Linked DNA regions of Homo sapiens: regions 2, 3, 4, 5, 6 and 7 are each linked to region 1. Evidence: promoter capture Hi-C in 16 types of primary human blood cells and fetal thymus (Javierre and others, 2016). All regions are on one chromosome and are shown on one strand. The core of a region is centred on a gene start or on the middle of the fragment in contact, and the rest is flanking DNA. Distances in the headings are between cores, read along the strand shown.

The links. Contacts are between HindIII fragments. The CHiCAGO score rates a contact against its expected background, and 5 or more counts as called.
Region 2: a contact is called between a fragment that was not itself captured here and the fragment with the promoter of CSNK2A3 in region 1, in 1 of 17 cell types (endothelial precursors). The highest score is 6.5, in endothelial precursors.
Region 3: a contact is called between a fragment that was not itself captured here and the fragment with the promoter of CSNK2A3 in region 1, in 1 of 17 cell types (endothelial precursors). The highest score is 6.4, in endothelial precursors.
Region 4: a contact is called between a fragment that was not itself captured here and the fragment with the promoter of CSNK2A3 in region 1, in 1 of 17 cell types (M2 macrophages). The highest score is 6.4, in M2 macrophages.
Region 5: a fragment that was not itself captured here is called in contact with the fragment with the promoter of CSNK2A3 in region 1 in 1 of 17 cell types (endothelial precursors); the score reaches 6.3 in endothelial precursors.
Region 6: a fragment that was not itself captured here is called in contact with the fragment with the promoter of CSNK2A3 in region 1 in 1 of 17 cell types (endothelial precursors); the score reaches 7.4 in endothelial precursors.
Region 7: a contact is called between a fragment that was not itself captured here and the fragment with the promoter of CSNK2A3 in region 1, in 1 of 17 cell types (M2 macrophages). The highest score is 6.9, in M2 macrophages.

What each region holds. Positions count from the first base shown.
Region 1 is chr11:11,351,354-11,354,732 of GRCh38, reverse strand. It overlaps CSNK2A3 (casein kinase 2 alpha 3), which reads left to right and starts at 1,483. Exons shown (of 1, transcript NM_001256686.2): 1 at 1,483-2,791. The coding sequence starts at 1,614. The coding sequence ends at 2,789. The region is part of intron 6 of GALNT18 (polypeptide N-acetylgalactosaminyltransferase 18); the gene reads left to right. The HindIII fragment of the contact is 3,495 bases long and covers 1,123-3,379 here.
Region 2 is chr11:11,611,728-11,615,266 of GRCh38, reverse strand. The region is part of intron 1 of GALNT18 (polypeptide N-acetylgalactosaminyltransferase 18); the gene reads left to right. Among named protein-coding and RNA genes, the nearest start is that of GALNT18, 8.5 kb to the left of the region's middle. RefSeq lists an enhancer at 1,514-1,683. The HindIII fragment of the contact is 200 bases long and covers 1,886-2,085 here.
Region 3 is chr11:11,638,469-11,641,926 of GRCh38, reverse strand. LOC105376553 (a long non-coding RNA gene) reads left to right here. Exons shown (of 4, transcript XR_931034.3): 3 at 2,100-2,173. Among named protein-coding and RNA genes, the nearest start is that of MIR4299, 17 kb to the left of the region's middle. The HindIII fragment of the contact is 1,349 bases long and covers 969-2,317 here.
Region 4 is chr11:11,042,402-11,045,895 of GRCh38, reverse strand. No RefSeq gene overlaps it. Among named protein-coding and RNA genes, the nearest start is that of LINC02752, 71 kb to the left of the region's middle. The HindIII fragment of the contact is 5,094 bases long and covers 1-3,494 here.
Region 5 is chr11:11,766,858-11,770,310 of GRCh38, reverse strand. No RefSeq gene overlaps it. Among named protein-coding and RNA genes, the nearest start is that of MIR8070, 15 kb to the left of the region's middle. The HindIII fragment of the contact is 417 bases long and covers 1,543-1,959 here.
Region 6 is chr11:11,665,555-11,669,008 of GRCh38, reverse strand. No RefSeq gene overlaps it. Among named protein-coding and RNA genes, the nearest start is that of MIR4299, 11 kb to the right of the region's middle. The HindIII fragment of the contact is 1,007 bases long and covers 1,111-2,117 here.
Region 7 is chr11:11,023,053-11,026,465 of GRCh38, reverse strand. No RefSeq gene overlaps it. Among named protein-coding and RNA genes, the nearest start is that of LINC02752, 91 kb to the left of the region's middle. The HindIII fragment of the contact is 1,024 bases long and covers 1,402-2,425 here.

The sequences.
Region 1 (3,379 bases), core at 234-2,733:
AGCTCAGAGGAATGTAGTGTGTTTTCCCCTGTCCCGAAAAGCTGTGGTATAGCAATAGTGAATCTTATCATCAGTGGAATATTATAGTGATAATAATTATAGCTGATACTTAGGGGCCTCTAAACTTCTTCCAGGTGATGAAATAAACTGTCTCTGTGTATTACTTCATTTAATTCTCACAGCAACTATCTTTGGAATTTATCACTTTTATCTCCATTTCATAGACAAGGAAACTGAGTGTTGGAAGGTGAAGTGAATTGCCTAAAGTCACCAGTTCAGCAAATGGGAAATGTAGGACTTGACACCAAGACTGTTTGGCCCCAGAGGCTATGCTCTGAACCATAATGACTTCCTGTCTTCCAAAAGGCAGGCTCTTGGATCCATATCTTACTGTGCTTCTAAATTATCCTGTGACCCTGAACCTTAGTTTGCTCACCTGGGAAATGAAGGGAGGTCCTGGTTAGGTTCCCTTCAGTTCTACTCTATTGCAGTATGCTGATCTCTTTTGTAAATCTGTATTAAATGAGAGTTTGCTATCGGTGACTTTCAGAGATGACACCAGTGATGATGCCCATGCTGACGATTCATTCTGATGTCTATGAAAAGAGCAAATCCTTTAAGAGAAGATGTAGCATACCAGTGTTTATAATCTGAGTTTCATTTGATTAAGAGGGGAAGCTCTTTAGAACAAATATCATTTCTGAGCGAGAGAATGTTCAGCATCTCAGCCTCATTTGTATCATTTGATAAAAGGGCCCCACTGAGCCAAGTGTGAGGATGATGCTTGAGCCAGACACATAGACACCAGACATTCCTCTGATGTCTGCTCCCCAGGCTTGGCCACATTGCCTCCCACCAACCCCATCTCAATGACACATCCATTACCTGCCATCAGTTGGCTCTATGGTGCTGGGAATGACAGAGTGTATCTACCCTGGATTTCAGAAAGAACCCTCCTGGCTTATCATGGCAACACCCTTTGGACACTCGTTTAAAGAGTCCTTCTTTGGGCCAGTGTTATCCTTTTGGGGGCATCTGGTATGGACGGCCAATTTGAATCTGACTGGGACATGCTAATGAGCCATTCATATGTGTGGGATTTGTTTCTGATTCGATTAAGCTTCAGAGAGAGGAAAGAAACAGCCACTGATTAGAGACATAAAAAAAGAAATACTTTAAGTGAGTAAGTGGTTCATCTTCATATAGGAAAGTATAAATTAAACATGGTCCAGGAGATGTGCTTTGAATAGCAGCTGGATAGCACAAGCATGTCCACAAGGAGACGGTGCCTCACAGCAATTGAAAGGGACTTAACCCCCAAAAAGGGCTCTGAATATGCTGAGTAAATAGATGAGCCCAGTTAGCTGATAAAAATGACTCTCAGATTAGAGATGGGAAGGTTTTTATTTGGATTTTAGAAAATTGCTCCCCACTCCATCGCCGCCATATTGTCTGTGTGAGCAGAAGGGAGAGCGGCCACAGCCGCTGCCGCTTCCACCACAGTGTGAAGAAAACAGGTCTGAAACAAGGTCTTACCCCCAAGCTGCTTCTGAACACAGTGACTGCCAGATCTCCAAACATCAAGTCCAGCTTTGTCCGCCAACCTGTCTGACATGTCGGGACCCGTGCCAAGCAGGGCCAGAGTTTACACAGATGTTAATACACACAGACCTCGAGAATACTGGGATTACGAGTCACATGTGGTGGAATGGGGAAATCAAGATGACTACCAGCTGGTTCGAAAATTAGGCCGAGGTAAATACAGTGAAGTATTTGAAGCCATCAACATCACAAATAATGAAAAAGTTGTTGTTAAAATTCTCAAGCCAGTAAAAAAGAAGAAAATTAAGCGTGAAATAAAGATTTTGGAGAATTTGAGAGGAGGTCCCAACATCATCACACTGGCAGACATTGTAAAAGACCCTGTGTCACGAACCCCCGCCTTGGTTTTTGAACACGTAAACAACACAGACTTCAAGCAATTGTACCAGACGTTAACAGACTATGATATTCGATTTTACATGTATGAGATTCTGAAGGCCCTGGATTATTGTCACAGCATGGGAATTATGCACAGAGATGTCAAGCCCCATAATGTCATGATTGATCATGAGCACAGAAAGCTACGACTAATAGACTGGGGTTTGGCTGAGTTTTATCATCCTGGCCAAGAATATAATGTCCGAGTTGCTTCCCGATACTTCAAAGGTCCTGAGCTACTTGTAGACTATCAGATGTACGATTATAGTTTGGATATGTGGAGATTGGGTTGTATGCTGGCAAGTATGATCTTTCGGAAGGAGCCATTTTTCCATGGACGTGACAATTATGATCAGTTGGTGAGGATAGCCAAGTTTCTGGGGACAGAAGATTTATATGGCTATATTGACAAATACAACATTGAATTAGATCCACGTTTCAATGATATCTTGGGCAGACACTCTCGAAAGCGATGGGAACGCTTTGTCCACAGTGAAAATCAGCACCTTGTCAGCCCTGAGGCCTTGGATTTCCTGGACAAACTGCTGCGATATGACCACCAGTCACGGCTTACTGCAAGAGAGGCCATGGAGCACCCCTATTTCTACACTGTTGTGAAGGACCAGGCTCGAATGGGTTCATCTAGCATGCCAGGGGGCAGTACGCCCGTCAGCAGCGCCAATGTGATGTCAGGGATTTCTTCAGTGCCAACTCCTTCACCCCTTGGACCTCTGGCAGGCTCACCAGTGATTGCTGCTGCCAACCCCCTTGGGATGCCTGTTCCAGCTGCCACTGGCGCTCAGCAGTAACGGCCCTATCTGTCTCCTGATGCCTGAGCAGAGGTGGGGGAGTCCACCCCCTCCTTGATGCAGCTTGCGCCTGGCGGGGAGGGGTGAAACACTTCAGAAGCAACGTGTCTGAACCGTTGCTTGTGGATTTATAGTAGTTCAGTCATAAAAAAAAATTATAATAGGCTGAAAAAAAAAAAAAAGAAAATTGCTCCCCAAATCCCTATGACATTTAAGCTCATTGTCATTCTCTGGCAGCACCAGTGACAGTAATGGGGGCCAGAGATCCTATTTCAAAACAAAGAAGTGATTACAGTAGATAGCGCAGGTGTCAATGGGACCCTGATTTGGAACTTGCTAATACTTCTGTCTCTGAGTTTGGGGCTTCTATAGGGTTTTGGTTCCATAGATATGCCTGGACTTGAACTAGCTTACCTTCCCAGCCTTGTGCATCGGGAAGCTGTGAGGGTCAGATCCTTCTAGATTTTGTGTCCCCTTACAAGGGTTGGAAGAGTCTGGCTGCAGCCCTGGCCTCACCAGCTGGCTCCCTCTTGCGTAAGTGGAGTTGCCACAGGGCTTCTGTCTGTGGCTTTCCAAGGAACCTGGAGCTG
Region 2 (3,539 bases), core at 736-3,235, 260 kb before region 1:
GCTTGGATGTTTTTCTGTCTCCTATAGCTTATGGATGTTACTTAGAATTGGCTCGTGTTCTTCTCATCTGAGCTTTGACTTGGCAGCGTTTGTGAAGAAGAGGATATGATGTTTGCTGAGTGCATGGAGTTTATTTGAGGAAAGAGTGTCATTTAAATAGTAAAGCTATTTGTCCTCTGGAATGAACTGTTGCATGTGAAATTATATTAGTAACAGTGATTGACATTTTGAGAGAGTTCAATAGCAGGACTTAGGAGTTGAGCCTAATTACCTTTGTTACTAGTTCAGAACCACAGCTTTATGAAGAAGAAAAGCCTTGCCAAAGGACACAACTTTTCCCCGTGACCAAAGAATCTTCATTTTTAGCCAGAAGTGTGTAGGCTGTAAAATAAATGAATTCCACATTCTTTCCCACTCACTTGACATAAATTGTTATTTTCCCTTGATAAGTAGGTTGGTGGAGAATCTCAAGGAGAATTCAGAATGAAAAGTGTCAGAGAGCCACGTCTGGTTTTGTCATTTATGAGGGCCTTGAAGTTCAGCTTTAGTCACTTGGGTTAGGCTGGCCTATGTTTTCCCAAAGGTATTTATGGGATTCAGAGTCACAAACAGGGTTACTGGAGCGTCTTCATTACCATCGTATAGGATTTCTGACCTCACTTCACTTGAATAGCTGAATGTGCTTGATATGCTTGAATGTTTGTACCCTCCAAATCTCATGTTGAAATGTGGTCCCCAGTGTTTGAGGTGGGGCCTAGTGGGAGGTGTTTGTATGAATGGCTTGGTGCTGTCTTCCTGGTAATGAATGAGTTCTTGCTGTATTTGTTCATTCAAGAGCTGGTTGTTTAAAGAGCCTTGCTGCTCCTCCTCCCTCCTCCTCCTCCTCCTCCTCCTCCTCCTCCTCTTCTTCTTCTTCTCCTCACTCTCTTGCCTCTCTCTCTCACCCCTCTCTCACTATGTGACATACCTGCTTCCCTGTTACCTTCTGCTGTGATTGTAAGCTTCCTGGAGTCTCCCCAGGAGCCTAGCAGATGCTGGACTTCGAACAGCTTGCAGAACTATGAGCCAAATTATAAATTTATAATTTTATAAATTACCAAGCCTCAGGTACTCCTTTATAGCAATGCAAAATGGACTAATACAAAGCTATTGTCTTGATTTGGGTCTTGAGGGTCTCCTTTGGTTTGTGGCAGAAAGCCAAGCTTGGCTTTTTGTTAGCTGGGTTCTATCTGGGAGATGGGGACAGACAGGCTGCCCTGTGGAGAAGCACATTGCCAAGCAGTACAGCTGGAGGTGATGTTACACAGAAAGTTCCTGGAGGGAAAACCCGGCTGAATGTGAGTGATAAATGTAACCAGAAGGCAGCATGGTGGGCTTTGGGGAGAGATGGAATTATGCATGAAGCGGAAGGGCAGAAGCCATACAAGTTGGATGACACTCAAGTCAGGAGCAAGAGGCAGAGTGACTGAGGTCCACTGGTGGCTAAGCCACCATCAATGAATGGTGGACCATGCTGTTTATGCTGGCCTGGAATGTCTCTTGAAGGGTGGAGCTTCTGCCTTGGATTTGGCAGGGATGTGGTCATTTCATGGCTCCTACAATTGTTATTGAATCTCACTTGCCTTTGGGGTTAGAGTCAGCTCCATCTGTAATGCAATGCTTGAGCCCAGGGGTCCTTGATGTTTCCCCCTTCCTCACACATAGGCCTACATACAAGGCATGTGCCCTAGGGCAGGGCTAGGAGGATGCACCTCCTAACACATTGCATTCATTCTTACTCCACCCTTTATTTTCCTACTTGAGAAGGCATATTAGTATGCAAGGGAATGTAACAACCTTGAAATCCCTTTAATTTATTAGAGTTAAAGCTAATCATTCATAAGCTTTGGTACTTAAATTATTGTTACTCACTAATTACCTCACAACTGCTCCACAGCACAGTATGTTGTGGCAGTGATTGGGAATGACTGCTGTTCTGGAATCTTCTCTGTGGATCTGTATACCTTTTATAGATCCCCTGTAGTTCCAGTGCAGCCAACTGGAACTTTAAGCAAGAGGATTCCTTGTTATATGAACACTTAAGCTTTGGTGGTTTTTCTGACTACACGATTATGGATTAAAATATGTTGCTAGACAGTTCGTCCCAGTGGGGATGCAGTACTGAGATGTAGTTCTCTTTCACTGCCTGACATTCAATTTCAGTTTTTGGAAGGTTTATTTTTGGGAGATGAAGCTGTCCTTAATGATGCTAGTGGAAACCCCTGAGTGTCCAGCCACCATAAACATTCAGTGGCTTCCCTTATGGAGCCACTGCTAAAATGGTTTTAGAACCAACAGGCATACTTTGCTGGGCTACTTTCCATTGCCACCATCCTTTAAGAGCTCACAGAAATACAGTGTTTGGGAAGATCCAGAGAAGTGGCATCTGCACTCTTCACCTTGGGACAGGTGAGAACAATGAAAAATGATGCCTACAAGGAGGCTTGTGGCCAGTTCTTTAGCGTGAATAGGTTCATTCTACAAATGCACTGAGTTTAAGTCTCAGAGCAGAGTTCCCTGATTAAGATTGTTGAGTGCTGCATCTTAACAAGCTCTGGTGCTTTGTTGGGCTTCGCCAGTCTGACTTGTGCATCCATCTCTGTCCCCTGGGAACTTGGAGTTAAAGGCCATTGAGATCCCAGAGGAGCAGGAAGGTAATTCAGGGACTCTGGCAAGACAGGATTCGAAGCTTGGCTTAATAAATGTTGTGCTAGCGGCATCTGGGGATTTAGGAGAACAGTACCAAAATTGCTTAGGCCAATGGATATGAGAGTTAGAAAGCTAAGGAGAGATTTGAAGCGACAAATGAGAATCCTAGCTAAACCCTTGATTTATTTTAAGAGCAACAGGCATATAGAGAATTAAAGATTGATTGTATCAAGGGAATGGAGGAAGAGAGCTACAGTATGCTAGCAGGTCAGGGACTGGCCCAGGTGCTGCCCAGGCATGATTACTTATTTATTTATTTCAATGAACAAATAAAATTGTAATTTTTAAAATTAGTGATTCCTTTTCATCTTCACAACATGGTAAGATTACCTTTTTTCTTACCTTTTTAGAGGTAAGAAAATGAAGACTTAGAGTTTGTTCAAGGTAGGTCACAGGGCTGATGGGTGGTAGAGCCAAGAAGGGAAACTGGCTACAAAACCAATGCTCTCTACAGAATAGGAAGGAGGATGAATGTTTCTCGTAGAGAGGAATGGGAGATCATCTTATCAAACATGGTGTTTGAGTGTAAGCTCAGAGGCCTCAGGTCAAATGGGAGGCCAGGCAGGGGCTTGGTTTACATTTGTGTCTACAAGGAACCTGGAGGGTAGGGTGGGCAGCAGTAGAAGGCCCTGGTCTGGAAGGGTGAGGGAGCAGCCACCACAAAGCTGTGGACAGCCTTTTCTCCTAGGTCACTGTGGGGCCTCCAGGAACTGGTCCTTGTCAAAAAAGCGGAGTGTTCCAGCTGCAGACTAGAGCTCTTTCAGATTCATTGTGACTTCTGAGCACCCAAA
Region 3 (3,458 bases), core at 394-2,893, 290 kb before region 1:
ATTCATCCAACAATTAAGCACCTATTTGTGCAAGGTGAGGCAGCTCCATCTTTCTAAGCTTTCCTGTTAGGTAGGAAGGAAGTGCAATCCAGGCTTTTCAAATCATGGACGTCAGAGAATGTCTGAGTTGGAAGGACATTTAGAAACTATGACTCAATAGCCTTCCTTTCACAAACAAGGAAACAAAAGCCTAAAGAGATGAAGTGATTTGCCTAAAATCACATGGCTGAACTGGGAATGTCAGAACTGGGACTGGAGTCAATTTTCCAGTTTTCCAGCCCAGTTCTGCCTTCTCCCTCCATTATCTACCATATTCTATTAACTGCTTTGGAAACAAAACTGTAATGAGCCCTAAATTATTTTCTCCTTTAGCACAAAGAATTTTTAATTGGGGAAGGATGTGCCCAAATTTGTGATGAGAAACAATGAACACAGCCTCAGTGGAATTACTGGGCCATGGCCCATTGTTTCAGCAAAGGCATCCTATAAGGGAAGGAAAAAGAAGATGAGGAAGGAGAGAATGCAGACCTTCTTTGTTCTCAAACCTTTTGTCTCTCTATTAGGCTGTGTTTGTTTGCCAAACATGAGCCTGGCAAATTGCATGCCCCAAGTAATCCCGACCATCTACTCCGACTCCTCAATACTGAGCTTGGCAGCTGATAGCTCAGCCTGTTGCATTGCCAAGCTGGATGAATAGACCTCAGCCAAGTTCTGGCTGTGAAAAGAGGCCTTGGGTACAAGGGCCCCATGCTTTTTGTGATCCAGTGGGGACAGGTCACTGCCTGGCTTATTTGTCTTCAAACCAGGCCAACCCACTCCACACCACGTGGGACCAAAACGAGAGGCCAGCCTCATAGCAGCAATAGGGCAATTGCCTTTGACCTCTCTCTTCACTCCCGCTCTGGTGTTGTACTCTCTACCCCAATCTGGTTTCTACCAGCTCCCCAAATTTTTAGCTTCTAAAAGCTTGTCTCCTATTCCTAGCTCCATCAAGTTAATACTTTAACTTATCCACCAGATTTATTTGGCTTAACTCTTGGTTCTTCCCTGAGTGATGGATTATACTTATCTTTCAGCTCCTCCCACTCCTGGTCACTTTGGGTTAAAACCCAGGCCAATTTTCATGAGATCTGGTCCCCAGAAACTCCTTTTCTTTACCCCAGGGAGTGAATTACTTGAGTGGGCTTGTTCCTATTGGCTTGCCTTAGTTTTCTACATCTAAGCCATTGTGCCTGTCTCTAGGACTCACTGAGTGCTCTCCTCCAGAAACTGCCTGCATCTGCCACTCTTATGTTCACCTCCTCGTCTTCCTGTCTTTATGCTTCACTTTCAGAACCTGCTTTGGCTGTCTTCCTCATCTTGGTTCTCCCACCATAGCAACTTACCAGCTCTGGGCTCTGATTTGGCATCACTGGTACCATTAGATAAGAGACCTCCCCCTCATCTCCAGTAGATCCCTTACTTACTGGGTGAAATCTCAGCTCCTTCATTCCCATGCCTTGGTTCCACTACCAAGGAAGAAATATTTAGAAATGACCAGTGGTTTTCCTGCGGTACTTTTAGCTGAATGTTTTGAATCTCTTGTATACACTGGAATTTGAAATTAACCACAGACTCCTATGGTTAAGAACAGCTGAAAGATCAAGCCTAAACATTTCTCAAATTGTGGTTCTGTGACCATCTCCATCAGAGTCCCTTATTAAAAATATAGATTCCAGGCCATCACCTCAGATCAAATGAATTAGAAACTTGGTGGGGGCTGTAGGGGGAGATTATTAGATTGATTATTAGATACCAGAAAATTTGATAACTATTGATTTAATTTATCTCCCAGGTTTCAGTTGGTATCTTATTTAAGCTATCCATAGCAACCCCTCTGGTCTAGGTGGTTCTTGAAAAAGGGAGATTTCAGAAGCCACCAGACTATTAAAGAAACATTGATATTATGTGTATTCACTATATTAAAAAATCAGTAAGTTTATTAGAAATCTTTCTTACATAGACTTCTGAGTAGGCCCAGTGGGGGATACTAGTTGACTAAAACACTCAGACTAGCTATAATTCTAAAGTAAAGGCACATATTTTCATTTGCATCTCAGGGAAACAAAGACAGTATGGGGACAGCTCACAAAAAGTCTCCACCTTGTCAGAGTGGAGCCGTCAACTTTGGCAGGTAAGTCTGTTCTGATGGTTGTGATAAGTGAAAGTACATGTGGTGAAGAAAAAGTGGGTCATCATTTTGAGATCCAAAAATTGACATAAAATTGTACGTGAAGGTAAATCTCTGTGAGAGATAATTATCAAATTAACAGAAGCTTATGGAGAGGAAATAAAGTCAAAATACGTAAAGATGATAGGGAAGATAGCTGGAGTGCTGGAAGGATCTGTATAGAACCATAGATTTCTGACTGGAAGGGGCCTCAAAAATCACATTGATGGAGAGTTTCAAATTCTTTTAAGCTCTTGGACTCTTCTATCAAACAAAATCTTATGCAGAAAGCTAACATGTAAAACAAATACAGAGTTGCTGTGGTTGGGGAGAATGAGAGAGAGACAGAGAGAACATGTTAATTAGGATAGGCTAGGTTATGTGCAGTAACAAACAATCCAAACATTTTATCAGCTGTTATAACAACAAAGACTTTTCCAGTTCATGCTGTATGTCTATCATGGACGGACTCGGTCAACTCTACAGTTCCCTGCTTCGGGTCCCAAGCTGATGGAGCAGCTCCCATTTTGATCACTGATGGTTACCATGATGAAAGAAAAGTACAACTCTGACAAATGTTGCATTGGCAATTAAATGCTCCAGTTTAAAAAAAGTGACACAGAGTACTTCTACCCAGGTTGCCCTGGTCAACATCAGTCACATGGCCCTACATAACCACAAAGAGGCCAAGAAGCGCAATCCTACCATATGCCCAGAAGCTATTTCCTACTGAAAATATTTAGTGAACACCACTGTTGACTAGCATTGTGTGTGTGTGTGTGTGTGTGTGTGTGTGTGTGTGTGTGTGTGAGCTTTCACTCATGCCCAGTGTTATCCCTAGGTACCTGCAAGGAACTCTTAGGCTCCATGAAAACTGATTTGGAAACTACTAAATTAGCTCCCTTATTTCATAAATGAAGAAAACTGAGGTCAATTTACTTACTTAAGGTAAGATAATATCAAAACCTAGGCCAGAATGTAGGTTTTCTTTGCTCTCAGTCCAAGGCTCCTCCCATTTTTGCTCTGAATGTGGTGTGTGTGTGTGTGTGTGTGTGTGTGTGAGAGAGAGGGAGAGAGAGAGAGAGAGAGAGACAGAGAGAGAGAGAGAGAGAGAGAGAGTGGTGACTCAAGAGTTAAATGTAGATGAAGAATAGACTGGTTCTGAAGGGAAATGTGAACCTGAGGAAATTTTCCGTGAAGGCTCCCCATGCATTCCAAGTGACAAATAGATGCAGTAAAGACATTATAT
Region 4 (3,494 bases), core at 647-3,146, 310 kb after region 1:
TCAAGCAAAACAGCTACACAGTCAGCTCTGGCCAGTCCTTGAGATTTCCCTGAGCAGGATGGGAAGAAGGCTGGGAGTCTCAGCCCCATTAGCAGGTGGGACCCAAGAGAACTCGGGACCACTGTGTTCTCACAGACTCGTTGGCTCCCCTGAGCTCTATCATGTTAATCTAGGTCATATGACTGGGCTTCTGCCTCTGTTTCCTGCCTAGCATGTCAATTATCTGCCGGAACTGGCTGTGCCCTGAGCCTCGGTCTCCGAGGCTGCAGCATGGCTCCTGGCCTAGCTCTTGCCATCATTTTCTCTGGGTTCCAGGATATGCCTCCTGTGCTCTGCTGTTACCACCCACTTGACACAGATGCAATGCCAACACACAAGAGGGGCTCATTAAAGGGCCATTCTGATCCTCTCCGGGCTCCCTGCTTTCCTGAGATGCCTGCTGCCCCTCCCCATAGGCCCCTGCACCAGATGATGCCAGCCTGCACCAGGCTTATTTCATTGGGGTACCTGGCAGCCACCACAGGAACTGGTCCAGTAACCCTGCCAAGCTCCAGTCTGATCAGTCCTGGCACCTCTCCTGCCCACAGGCCTGGTCCTGCTGTACCTCCACAGTCCTCCTACCAAGTTATCACTCTAGCTGTGCTAGAGAAGAAGAGGCAGGTAGGATCCTCCTCTTAAAGCATTTTAGGGACTATAACTGGCCCCTCAGGAAAGAGAGTTAAATCTTTGAGCTCTGAGGCTGTACCCCGGCAGCCCCTCCCACCTAGTTCCAGGGCCTAAGGCTCTCCTGGCCAAGCCAGTGAAGAGGCTTGTCCATCATGGCTCTACCAAGGGCTGAGGGGAGGTAGCAGGTGAGGTCTGCAGGCAGAGATTCCTGAAAGAGCCCAGGAGCACCAGCTGAGATGACCTGGGGAGTCCTCCCTTGGAACAGGGTTCTGCCAGGGACTGGTTACACAGAGTGAGCTGCATCCACCTCCCCCAGGCTGGAGCAGAGTGGGAAGGTGTTGGGGACAGGAGAGTGGGCAGGAAGTTAGCAAGACCCAGGGAGGGCTTGTGTACGAAGCTGCCCTTCCTGCCTCCCGCTGACCCAGCCCCTCCTCTCAGCCCAGGGCAGCTAGGTTAGAAGCAATAATTCCCCAGGAAGGGGAAGGATGAAACAACACCCAGGAATCCAGTATCACAGCCAGCATTATCTGAGAGAAGGCTGGAGAGGAGCACAGTACAGGGAAGGAGGCATGCTTCTGAGAGGCCAAGGTGGCATCACCAAGATGAAAATGGCCGCCTCTTACGGAGCAGTTTCCCAAGGCCTGGCACTGGGCTAGGAGGTTTCCAGACCTTACTTCACCCTGACCGCAACTCTTCTTGGCAGGCATACCATCCTCATTTTACAGTTGAGGGAAGGGAGGTTCTGAGAACGACCTCTCTAAGGCAGCACAAAAAGTGATGGGGTCAGAATTCAGCATTGCTCTGCCTGCCTCTGAGAGCAGCAAGACATGACCTCCCTAGAAAACATGTCCAAGAGGAAGGCAGGGAGTGGAGCCAGCCCAGGGAGGCAGGGCTGGCAGCATGGAGATGAGCAGATGGATCTGAGCAGTGTGTACCAGGCAGGCCTCCCCACGGAGGCCACTGCCTTGGGTGTGGCATGGGAGGGCAGGAGACAGAGAAACCCCAGGTCCCCAAGATAACTGGGGCAGAGGGACCAGTAGGTGGCCAGCCTCTAAGCAGGGGTATCCCGTGAGCGCTGCCACCCAAAAGCAGTGCCTGAGACCAGCTGTTTGGGATGTCAAGTGTCCGGCTTTGATCTCCATCCTCCTTCTTTCCTCTCCTGTTATCTTTCTCTTCTAGAATGTTCTCCCTCCTCCTGGTGCCCTGAGTTCCTGGAACATAATCCAGACTCTGAATCCTCCTTTTGGCAGCATTTCATCAATTAATCTTTCATCCACACTGATCCCCTGAAAAATGACTTCCTCATTATCCATCTTGCAGTTTCCACTTGGCAGCCTGAATGGTAAAGCATCTGTCAAGTTCAGATTCTCTATGGTGCAGTGGGAAGAGCCAGGGCTTTGGGATCAAACCGACCCGAGAAGAGGCCCAGCTCTACCACTCTCCAGCTGTGTGCCCTTGGGTGAGTCACTTGACTTCTCTGAGCCTCAGTTTCCCCATTTGTAAACAGGTTGAAAGCACACGCTTCATGGGGTTATTGAGAAGACCAAATGACACAATTCATCTGAGATTTTTTGCAAACTGCTATACAGGTGTAAAGCCTGTTTTGATTATTACTGTTTTTCACTGGTTCCCAGGTGGACTGAAGCTGATCTCCAGCTTGTAGGCCTCAGAGAGGCAAAGCTAAGATCACAGGCTTAAGAGGTATCCTCAAATGCTCCTCGTCACCCCACTGGCCAAAGAAGTCACAGCATGCCCTGCAAGGCAAAAGCCCAGATATGACTGAGGCTCAAAGTGAAAGCCAAAATATAGGGGGCTCATCTCAGCTGCAGAAATATAGAAGTATGAAAAAAATGTGCAACCTTGCTCATGATAGAAAAATGAAGATTAAAACTATATCGAGACTTGATTTCTCATCAGCCAATCAGCTAAAATCCAAGTTAGACAACAAATTCTATTGGTGAAACTCAGGGGGAACAGGCATTCTTTACATTGCTGATGGGAATGCAAAAGGTACAGCTCCTATGGAGGAGAATTTGGCAATATCTAGAAAAACTACGTACTTATTCATCTTTTAAGCTAGAATCCCACATCTAGGAGTCAAAGGAACACTTGTAAAACACAAAAGGATAAAAAAGTAAAGGAACATTTATTCATTGCAGCAGTATTTATAAAAGCAAAAACTGGAAATCACCCAAACACCCTCATCCAAAGGGGACTGGTTCATTATATGATGGTGGGTCCGTGTGAAGGGGCATGAGGCACCTGTGGAAAGCAACAAAGATCTCTAAGTAATACTGTGGAGTGTTTGCTACAACAGGGTAAGTGAGGAAAGCAAGCTGGAATACAGTGTATACAGTATTATTTTACCATTTATCTAAGCAAGAGGGGATATGTATACCTATTTGCCTATAGTTTTCAAAAAAACCCACAATGAAAGGAGAGTTGGACTCTTTATGCCCGTCTTCCATTCATAGGCCACCCCTTGGCTCCATCCAGCCACTACTATAGCTGTAGGTGTACTATAGCTGTGCACACTTGCAGCCTGACACAGCCCCTTCCTTGCCCAAGCTGCACTGTATATATCTCCTGCAGGTTTCTCTGAGATGTCTCAGCCACTGCTGACAACCTCTTTGGCTTATGAGCACACTTGGAAGTCCAAGGGCGTTAACACCCCCAGGGCAATCCTTGATCAACAGGGAACAAGAACACACAGGGGCAGAGGATCAATACTCTCATCTTCCTGTCCTGGACAGGCGATCCTCAGGCACATTCTGCATGGTTCCTCAGAAGGTCCTCTGTGGGCCTGAGCCCCAGTTGCCCATTGTCAT
Region 5 (3,453 bases), core at 502-3,001, 420 kb before region 1:
ATAATTATTCTGTCAGACTACACTGTCTTGGTTCAATTGGAGCCTGAACGACTGTGTTTCTGAACCTTCTGTAGAAACAGGCTGGGCAAAATCTGTAGGCTCTTTGCTACCTGTTTTGGCCTCACTCAGCTCCTCTTATCTGCAGATTTGGGACCTCATAAAGCCTCCAGCCATTCCTGATCAGGACATAGCTTACAACAGCAGCCTGGTGCCCATAACCTGGACAGCCTGGAGTGAAGTCACACTCCCAGACTTGATGTTCTAATGACAAGAATGAACTCTGACTATTTGAGTGCCCCACAGTCCTGGGACTTCCTGACTCAGGATGAGACTTTGCCAAACTGGGCATTTGCTACCATCTCTGCCCTGTGGTGGCCTGCTGATTATGTCTTGCATTATACTTTCTCTCTCTATGAATGGGTTCTAACTTGAACTCTATCTCTGTGGTTGGGACTTACACTCAGGTCAGTTTCTTTCTTCCATGCTGGGATGGTGGTGGGGAAGTGCTGAAATCTACTACCTGAACTCAGTCCTCTCAAGTTACTGGTTGAGGTCCTGCTAAGAATGAATGCATCACTTGAATTGGCATCACCTGCCTGTATGTATATACATCTCTCCAAATACCTGAGCTCTTCCCTTTTCAGTACTCCATCATCACCTGTCTTCTGTCTCCCACCCACTGCACCCTACCAGTAGCCTTGCCTTGCCTAAATCAGTGCAGAACAAACTGTACCTGTCAGACTTTGTGTCTTGAGCCATCCAGTTGTCTTTGCTGGAACCAGCCTCTTCAGCTGAGCTAGTTGAAATTCAATAAGCATTCATGGATCTTCTGTTATGTGCTAGGGGACAGAGAGCCAAGTATGCCTCAGTTCCTACTTCTAGGAGTCCACAGCATTGCCTAGAAAAATGTCCCTCTGCTGGCTGGTGCACATCACTCATGGCCCACTGTGTATCACATCTAAGTCCGTATTCCAGCGTGGCAGAATTTCTCACAGCTGGAGGCAAGACTGAATGCAATGTAGGATGAAATCTTCTTGTTAGTTCAGGCAGAAGCAACACTGGGGTTGAAATTCTCCAAGTAATATTTCCATTTGTCTGGGGGAAATCGATGGAGCTTTTCTGCTTACAAAGGTGGAGGGAGTTGGTCAGATCACTGGATAGTCATAGTCTGATAGAAATATGCAATAATGTTAATATAAGATTTATTCTATGTGTGCCGATAACTTAGGGACGGCCTTGAAGGCTGTGAATTTTTGATGGTTTGTTGCTTTAGGCAAAACCAGTGCGTAACCTAACAGTGATGACAATGATAATGATAAAGTTGGAAAGAAAGTTAAGAAAAAAAAAGGGCATTCATTGTGCTTCTGACACGTTCCAGTCCTTGTGGAAATGGAATCATCCAATACTAGGAGTATTTCCCATCTACAAATCTCAAAGACCCTGGGCATGGATAGGATGGTATTTCTTGTAAGGGATATTAGAAAGATTTTTAAAACCACCTCCAGCTTAAATTTTTCCTCTTACTTGGAAAAGCTATAAGCTTTTCATGCTATAAGCTGCCTTTCTTTACAGAACTATTAAATTATCCTTCAGATACAGTTAAATTTTATGGCCAAAATGTAGAAGATAAATTGGGAGGTAAACACATTACTGTATTCATTAAAACATGCACTCCATAAAACTGATTCTACTCTTCAAAAACATTTATTCCATCAGCACTGGGAATGGCTGAAAGTGATGGGGAGTACGTATTAGGAAAGGCTACCACATGGTAACACAAAATAAGGAGTTAATATATCCAGTTCTTGTTCTTTGTACTGAGATCCCTCAGTTTCTCTACAGGGATTGACCAAGCTAATGATGTGTAAGAGATGCCACTGGTTGACATAGACACAAAGTGTCCTGGACACCTCTGAAGGAAGGCATGCTAATTTGAACAGATCCTTTCACCATCAAGCTTAAAAAATGGCAGCAAACACTGGGCTCTGTGGACTCAAGGTTATTTTAAACCAAAAGTATATCATCAACATAGCTTGCAAACAGTAACTTTCAGTCCCAGAGGACTCCGCAGGCATTGCTAAGGTGCTTTACTGGTAGAAGTCCTCTGATTTCATTTTCACTCTGGATACCAGTTTCATATTTAAGGTCTGTAAGCAGCAGTAAGGGGCTTCTGTATGGAGTATTTTCTCTGCAACTGATAGTCCAAGACTGTCTGTAATGAACAATACAATTTTCAGGCCAGAGGGGTGGACTGGAAGCTGCTGAGATAGGATTCTAAGGACCTGGATAAAAGGAATCCATTCATTTGGCTAAGGAAATCTGTCACTTCAGAAAAATTAGTGATATTTTCCAAATCACATCAATGCCAAGGAGCTAACAGAACTTCTTGGACATAAAATAGTCATATTTTTCAGAGAAACTTGATTGCTATTTGGAATTCTATTGTTACCTTGTTCAGTCTCTCTCATGTATTAATAAATGCTTTTGGTAGTAGAAACATTCCTTGTAATGTAAGAATTTAGGTTCCAACCAAAAGAATACATATGAGTCTGGAAACCAATTAGAGTCTTTCTCCTCAGGAAAGTTTATACACAGTGAGCCCCCAAGAAAGTGTAGATCTGTCTCGGGAAGGTCTAGAGCCAGGAAATCTCACAGTGAAGCCAAATGGTGGCTCATTCAGCTGCAGTGACTCTTCTGGTCTTTTCCATAGGAACTTCTTTCACTGCAGACCAGCCGGTAGCTTTTCAGCAACTGAAAAGCTCAAGACTCCCTCCAGCACTGCCATCTTCATTTAGTATCCTTAGGGACCAGCCCATCCAGAGGCAGGACCTTGACTGTTCTCTATGTATTCTTGTGTTTTTGTTTTTGACTGTTTGATTCCATCTACGTAAACAACTTTTTAAAATTGACAAATAAAAAGTATGTATGTTTGTGGTATACAACATGCTATTTCGATATAGGTATCTATTATGAAATGACTAAATCAAGCTAATTACCATATCCATCACCTGACATCCTTATCATTTGTGTAATGAGAATTTTTTTCTTTTTTTTTTTTTTTTGAGACGGAGTCTCGCTCTGTTGCCCAGGCTGGAGTGCGGTGGCGCGATCTCGGCTCACTGCAAGCTTCGCCTCCCAGGTTCATGCCATTCTCCTGCCTCAGCCTCCCAAGTAGCTGGGACTACAGGCGCCCGCCACTACGCCCAGCTAATTTTTTTGTATTTTTTTTTAGTAGAGACGGGGTTTCACCGTGTTAGCCAGGATGGTCTCAATCTCCTGATCTCGTGATCCGCCCATCCCGGCCTCCCAAAGTGCTGGGATTACAGGCGTGAGCCACCGCGCCCAGCCTGTAATGAGAATATTTAAAATCTACTCTCCTAGCAATTTTCAAGTAACAATAATTAACTATAGTCACCATGCTGTACAACAGATCTCTAAAACTTATTCCTCCTA
Region 6 (3,454 bases), core at 365-2,864, 310 kb before region 1:
TCATTTCCTTTGGCCCCGTGCTCTGAGCAGAGAGGGACCAGCTGGTCACCAATTTCTATCTAATAACTCTTCGGAGCCTCAAAAGCTGTTATTAAATTGCTCCTCAGCTGCCTCTTCTCCCACTAAATAATTCTTGCTCCTGCTTTTCTCCACGCGTCCAGTTTTTCCACTCTGTGCAGCCTTGGTTGAAGCCCCTCCATCTTCCCCATGGTCCCAGAGAACTTGGAAGCTGAGGGGTCAGACAGTTATAGAGGCCGCTTGCTGGCTGCAGGATTGGAGCAAAGTCAGCCTGGGGGCTGCCCAAGTAGCTATTTATTGCCCCTGACCAACACCAGGCACAGTCCCAGCATTTCTCCTTGCTCTTCTGCCCACAGGTGAAAAGAAGAAAGATGTTTTTATTTTCCATCTCATGACAGCCTGGGCACCCAGCTTTTCTCCCCTTCCTCTTGTTTCCAGTTCTGCCCATCTCCACACTATAGCCAGCCAGCACCCTCTGTGGGCTCAGATGTACAAGGGAGATAAGCTGGAGAGCTGAAACAAGCAAGCCAGCACGCAAAACCAACAAGAATAGCAGTGGGCACCATCCACGAGCTGCCAGCTAACTGCATGCTTTATCTTGTTAGCTCCTCAGACAACCCTATTGTCCTCATTTTACACGAGAAGATTCTAAAGCTCAGTGGTACAGCCCATAAGTAACTTGTCTGAGACCACACCTACAGGAGTGGGTACAGCCAGAATTGAAATCCAGGCAGTGGGACTTCAGTGCCAGTGCTTTTAACACCTACTGTCTCACCCTATTTATTGTGCAGGAAGTGAATCAAGGATGGAAAAAGAGCCCACAGTGGGTACCTTAGGAGCAGGTTACTGCTGTGGACAGTTGGAGCTAAAGGCAGAGACTTAGAGGGGACAATCAGAGAAGTGGGAGAGCCAGAAGGGAGTGATTCAAGCGTGAGGACGACCTGTGTCAAATGCTCAGAAGGGTTGAATATAATTCTTTCTTATATATCTTTAATCTAAGCCCAAGCTGTCATGGCAATGGATCCATTCTCTATCTGTGTCCCAGGCCTGTTCCCTGATTGCATAGAGGCCACTGACCCTCCTCTCCAAGCTTCTCTAGCCCCAAGAATCCAAACTCCTCCCATCTACCTCTTACATACTGGTTCCTGAATGGGAACTCTCTTAGAAGGTCTGATTCTCCATCTTCTCCCTGGATCCAGCTCTCCTGTTCTCTTATTTACAGAGTCTGGCCTCTGACTGTACTGCCAGCACATGCCTATTCCCCAGTTTCTGTCTCTCCTTCCTCCCTTCCATAACATGAGTAGAAAAGGGATCTTAACTCCTTTTTTAAAGTAATGTTTTCTACCACAACCAACTGGGGTGTGGTTGGCTGAAAATAGCTCCCCCAAAAGATATCTAATCCCCAGGACCTAAGAATGTTATATGGCAAAAATCGGGGGAGGGGGATGTCTTTGCAGGTGTGATTAAGTTAAGGATTTGGGGATGGAGGATTATCCTAGATTATCTGGGTGGGTCTGAAATGCAATCACATGTATTCTTACAAGAGGAAGGCAGAGGGAGATGTGACATCCTCTGGTGTCAAAGGTGGAGAAGTGAAGGAGATGGGAAGACGGAGCAGAGAGAGATTTGGGGATGTTAACCCAAGATTGGAGTGATGTGGCCATCAGCCAAGGAATGCTAGCAGCCAAGGAAGTAGTAGGAGAAGCTAAGGAGTAGATTTTCTCCTAGACCTCTGGAGGGAGCTCTGCTAACACCCTGATTCTGGCCCAGTGATGCTGACTATGAACTTGCAACCTCCAGAACTGCGAGAGCATAAATTTCTGTTCTTTTGGGCTACCGAGTTTGTGATAATTTACTTCAACAACCACACACATGAAAAAATGAATACATGAGCATCACCAGTATACATCTGCAGATTAAAGGCTACCATCATTTAAAAGTTCTTGGACCCCTTATTTACAATGCCTAGGGGTGGGATAAGTATAAGGGAGTAACTCAAAATTCAAACCCATTGTTTTAGGTAGGCAGTGTTTTCCTAACATTCCCTCAAACTTCCCATCTCCATCCCTCCATGCTCAAGGCATTAAAGACCGGAAGCTTCACCTACGGGATATGAGAAGAGCTTGCTGAACTTGTTCATTTGTTCCTTCTCAAGGATCCTTGCATTTTAAAAGGAGTCCCACCTCCACATCTCTGCAAAATTCCGTCTTTAATCTTGTGCTTTCCCTAGGCTCCGTAGGTACCCATGCGGAGAAAGAGCAGTGAATGCACCATGTGAACTCTACAGCCCTAAACAATTCTAAGGCATAACAAATATGAAGGCTGTTTCTGTTGTTCCCTTTCAAATATGCCCAGATATTATATTTTTTGAATGGTCGAAAGCACAGTTCTCACACTAACACATTTCTGCACAACAATGAGAAGATATATATTCTTTCCCATAGGATTCAAGAGAGCTATTTTCATTTTGAATGTGAAAAAATAAATTCATAAATATTTAATAACCCTCCAAACCCCCCGTGTTAGTCTGTGCAAAAAATAAAAATGTAGCTCTCCATTGGTTTAGGACACAAATATCAGCAGCATTATTTGTGCATCAGAGACGTCCTCTTTGTCCCAACAATGGAACTTCCTTTACTACCTTCCTTCTTTATCCAGCTTTTGGTTGTCCTATATTCTGAAGAATCATTTCTTCAAAAAGATCTCAGAATTTTTTTGTGTGTTCTTTTGCTCTTGAATTTCTGCTGGCCGCTCTGAGAAGTTTGGGTCTGGCTCTGGGCTGATAGTTGGTGGCTGTACTAAGTCAGGCATCTGTAAGGCTCCAGGTTTCTCAGCTCTGTCCCCTGAGCTCACGTGGTTGCAAGTGATACATTTTGGGAAGTATTTGTTAGTGGATGCAACATTTTAATGGAAATGCCTAAAATGCCAGTGTAACAGTAGCCCACCTGCTAGGAGAAGGAATTCATTACCACCCAATCTCTGGCAGTGCATACTAAATCTGTTTGATGCAAGACAGGCAAGCCCCAAAATTGGGACTTAGCCTGGGAGGGTTGTTGGCTTCACCCAGGAAAGAATTCAAGGGCCAGCGGGTGGTGTTAGACAGCAACTTTTGTTGAAGCAGCAGTGTATGGCAGCAGAGGTACTGCTCCTTGTGGAGTGGTGCTACTCCATAGGCAGTGTGCCAAGAATAGCAGCTCAGAGGCAGTTTTGCAGTCATATTTATACCCACTTTTAATATATGAAGACCAAGGGGTAGTTTTGTGGAAATTTCTAGGATGAGGGTGGTAACTTCCAGGTCACTGGGTCATTGCTGTGGAAAGGGGCAGTAACTTATGGATGTTGCCATGACAATAGTAATCTGACATGGCACACTGGTGGGTGTGTCTTATGGAAAACTGCTTTCAGCCTGATCCTGTTTTAGCTATTCCTCAGTTTG
Region 7 (3,413 bases), core at 664-3,163, 330 kb after region 1:
AGGCTGTGGACAACTGGTTTGAATGGGACAACTGCCAGAGAAAGTCCCATCAAGCTATGATGACCACAGAAAAGTTGACCAAAGACCATGGAGGGTGACCTGCAAGTGGACCAAGCCTGTCAATAGGATTTTGGGAACAGATCCCACAGATCTGGTACCATGCTGCCTCATTTTCTCCCAAGTGGGTCAGTGTTTGGAGTCTAGAAACAACATGTTTTAACAACTCAAAATTCTTCATTGGGTTGGGGCGTTATCAAAGCCAGTTACAGCCCATATCCTTTTTATCTGCCCCTCCTGTAAAAGGCAACCAAGCTCATGGATTCCTTGTAGTTGTCTGAACGTTTCCTTGGTCAGTGTTCCTTCTTTACTCCAAAAGACCCTTTACAACTAGAAATATAGGCCATTCTCTTGGGACCTCCTAATGGCTATTATCTAAAATTCTCCTGATGATACAGATACACACTCAAATATTAGAATAGCATAAACATTTTTCAGACTAGAGTTTCCAGTCTGTGCTTCTGGACAATGAGCAGCCAGATTAGACCCCTAATTCCTAAGCCTACCACTGGGCAGGACGGCAAGTGGTCACTATCAGAGAGGCATGGCAGCACCATACCAGATACAGAATAATAGTTGAAGAGCAGAACGCGAATGAGCAATTAAGTTGCCTCAGTTTGCCAGTAAATCTGAGAACAGACCAACTTTGCTGGGATATAGATTACAGCAGGTAGAAACTGATTTTGTCACCCTCTGGCAATTTAAGCCCCTGATCTTTCCCTCAATTCCTGCCCCATATCAGGGAGCTAGTCATGCCATTGGGCTTTTCATGCCAGTATTTCTCAAACTAAGCCCACTGGACATTTTCTCTGAGTTCATGAGATTCTGATATTGTTTTTTTAATTTGTTTTCATATTGATGAAAATATAAAAATAATCAATATTCATATCTTGTGGGTCAACTGAATGACCAACTCAAACCACAGAATTTCTATGTCCACATGTAGATTTGTGTTTATGACAGCATAAGGGTCAAATAGAACTGCTTTAATTCTCTCAGACTAGTGAAAAATGAGTGTGATGGACTTCAACACAAACAATGTGATCATTGACAAGTGAGGAACAAATGACCTCACAGCATCCTGTAGAAACAAAAGTGTCATGATATTTAGGATAGAGGAAGATGGAAGACACACTGAGTCATCATGCGGCATGCAGCACATTCAGCAGAGTCGTGGCCAACTCACACAAACCTGTGCCATAGCCCCAGGACCATATCCACATGGCAAGAAATGATTTTGTTTTAGCAAACCAACATCATTGATCCTATTAAAGATTAATCTTAATTCTATTGATTTTGTGGATTTGTTTGTATTTTATAAATTCATAAAAGCTTGTCTAAGCTTTTATGTTAAATGTTAATGTTTACACAGTATTGCTTATACTTAAATTTATACATGGGTTATGTTTTTAAGATTATACTTAGTTTAGCATCTGTGTATATTTAAATTAATTATGATAATAAAATTATTTGTCAGCATTGTTTTCTTCTAAAAAGAGACTATGCATCATTCAAGCTGGAAGCACTATTTATTATTCTCTGAATATTACATCATCAATTTCTCTAATACAGTGGCACTTGCCCCCCATTGGTCAATGGGTGTGTCTAATGTATTCTAATGGTTAGACTAACTTCTTTACTTTGTTCTGGCCTCCTTGTTCAAAATCCATGCTCCTGAAGAATGCTGAAATGATCAGTAGTGTTAAACAGGAGTAGAACATAAAGTCCTAGAAGGTTCTCAAGGCAAGTCCTCAAGGGCTAGCATTTTGTCAGAAGGGAAAAGCAGAAACCCAGCATCAGATCTAGGTAAGACTTAGTTGTACCCAGGCAGCAGGACAGTCCAATGCTCAACCCTGGGTTATCTTGATCTCCTCCCACCATAACCATTAAAAACAGGCCTGGAGGACCAAGCCTGCAGCTGAAAATCCACCGGCCCCAGTTGTGAAGTGGCAAAGGCTGAGAGGCAGGACCCAGACTGGTGAATTCACAGATCCATTGCTGGCCACAGAGAAAACAAATTATTTTAGATATAATTAAGTGTAGACAACAAAACACCAAGGCCATCCCAATAAAACATCACATTACTTCTGACTTGAGCTATACAAAAGAAGAGAAGCAAGATCCCGTTAGAAGAAATTGTTGACATATTAGAGCTTTGCCCTTAAGCCCCATCCATGGCCCTTTAAATGTGACCAGCATGTATATGGACAGCGCTGGGATCTGAGGAGGGGATGCCACCTGGGACAGAATGACAGTCAAGGTTAGTAATGCTCGCTCTGGGCCACTGCCTAGAACAGTTCCTGCCTGTCCTGAAGCAAATACCCACAAAATCCAAGAGAGCTATATGAACGAAGGAGGTAGACAAGCTTTTATATGCAGACACACTTGGTTTATATTAAATACATACACATACTTTTTAATCCCACAAAGAACTGTGCTTTCTGCCATTTTTCTTGAAACATACAACCCCTTTTGGGCTACCTTTCATGGGTTTTCATTGTTACTAAAGACATGGATACACACAAATACTTTTATATCATAAGGGAAACAATAGTGCAAGGGTGCTGCAAAGGATAAGGGACACACAGTTTAAAGTTAAGAGATGGTGTGCTGAACTCAGCAGCACTCGGTCTGAAAATTGCAGGCCCTGCCCAGGCCTGCTGAAGCCACTGTATATGCCTTGCTAAGGCAAACATCAGTTCTTCTCAGCATTAATTCCAGGTGCCTACAAAGGGAGCAGAGGATGAAATGATGTTCAAAGGACATTCATCCTTTGGATTTGGGCCAACCATTCTCCAGTGTAACCAGTTTGCTGCTGGGCATCTTTTTCTGTAATACATTTATTAATTAACAACCTATATCAGATCATAGAAGTAGATTCCCAACGCAGAATACCATTACGTGTCTGGGTACACATAATGATGCCATTCCCACATCTTGGCCAACAGCCCACACTGACACGGCCCTGCTGATGTGGGTATAACACATTCTATTAAATGAAAAACCTAACATAATGGCAGCTATTAATACCTTCTAATATTAATAGGCAGCATTAATCTTATGCAATAGAATCTGTCCACTTACCAAGCACTTCGTTTCACAGCTTTTCCCAATTTCTTTAAGTGTCCTCCCACCACCCTGATCACTATCTGCTGGACACTCTCTGATTTGTCATAACTACCAAGGTGAGGGCTGGAGGGGCCACCAATGCACTAACAGCACATAAAAAGTAACCTCAATTGGGACTCTAAAGCTCTCTTATTCTCTCAGCTACATCCACCCCAAGAGGAGAATGAACACAGGAGACATCCTCTTTAGTATAACACACTCTTACTATCCTTCAGATCTCAGCTTTG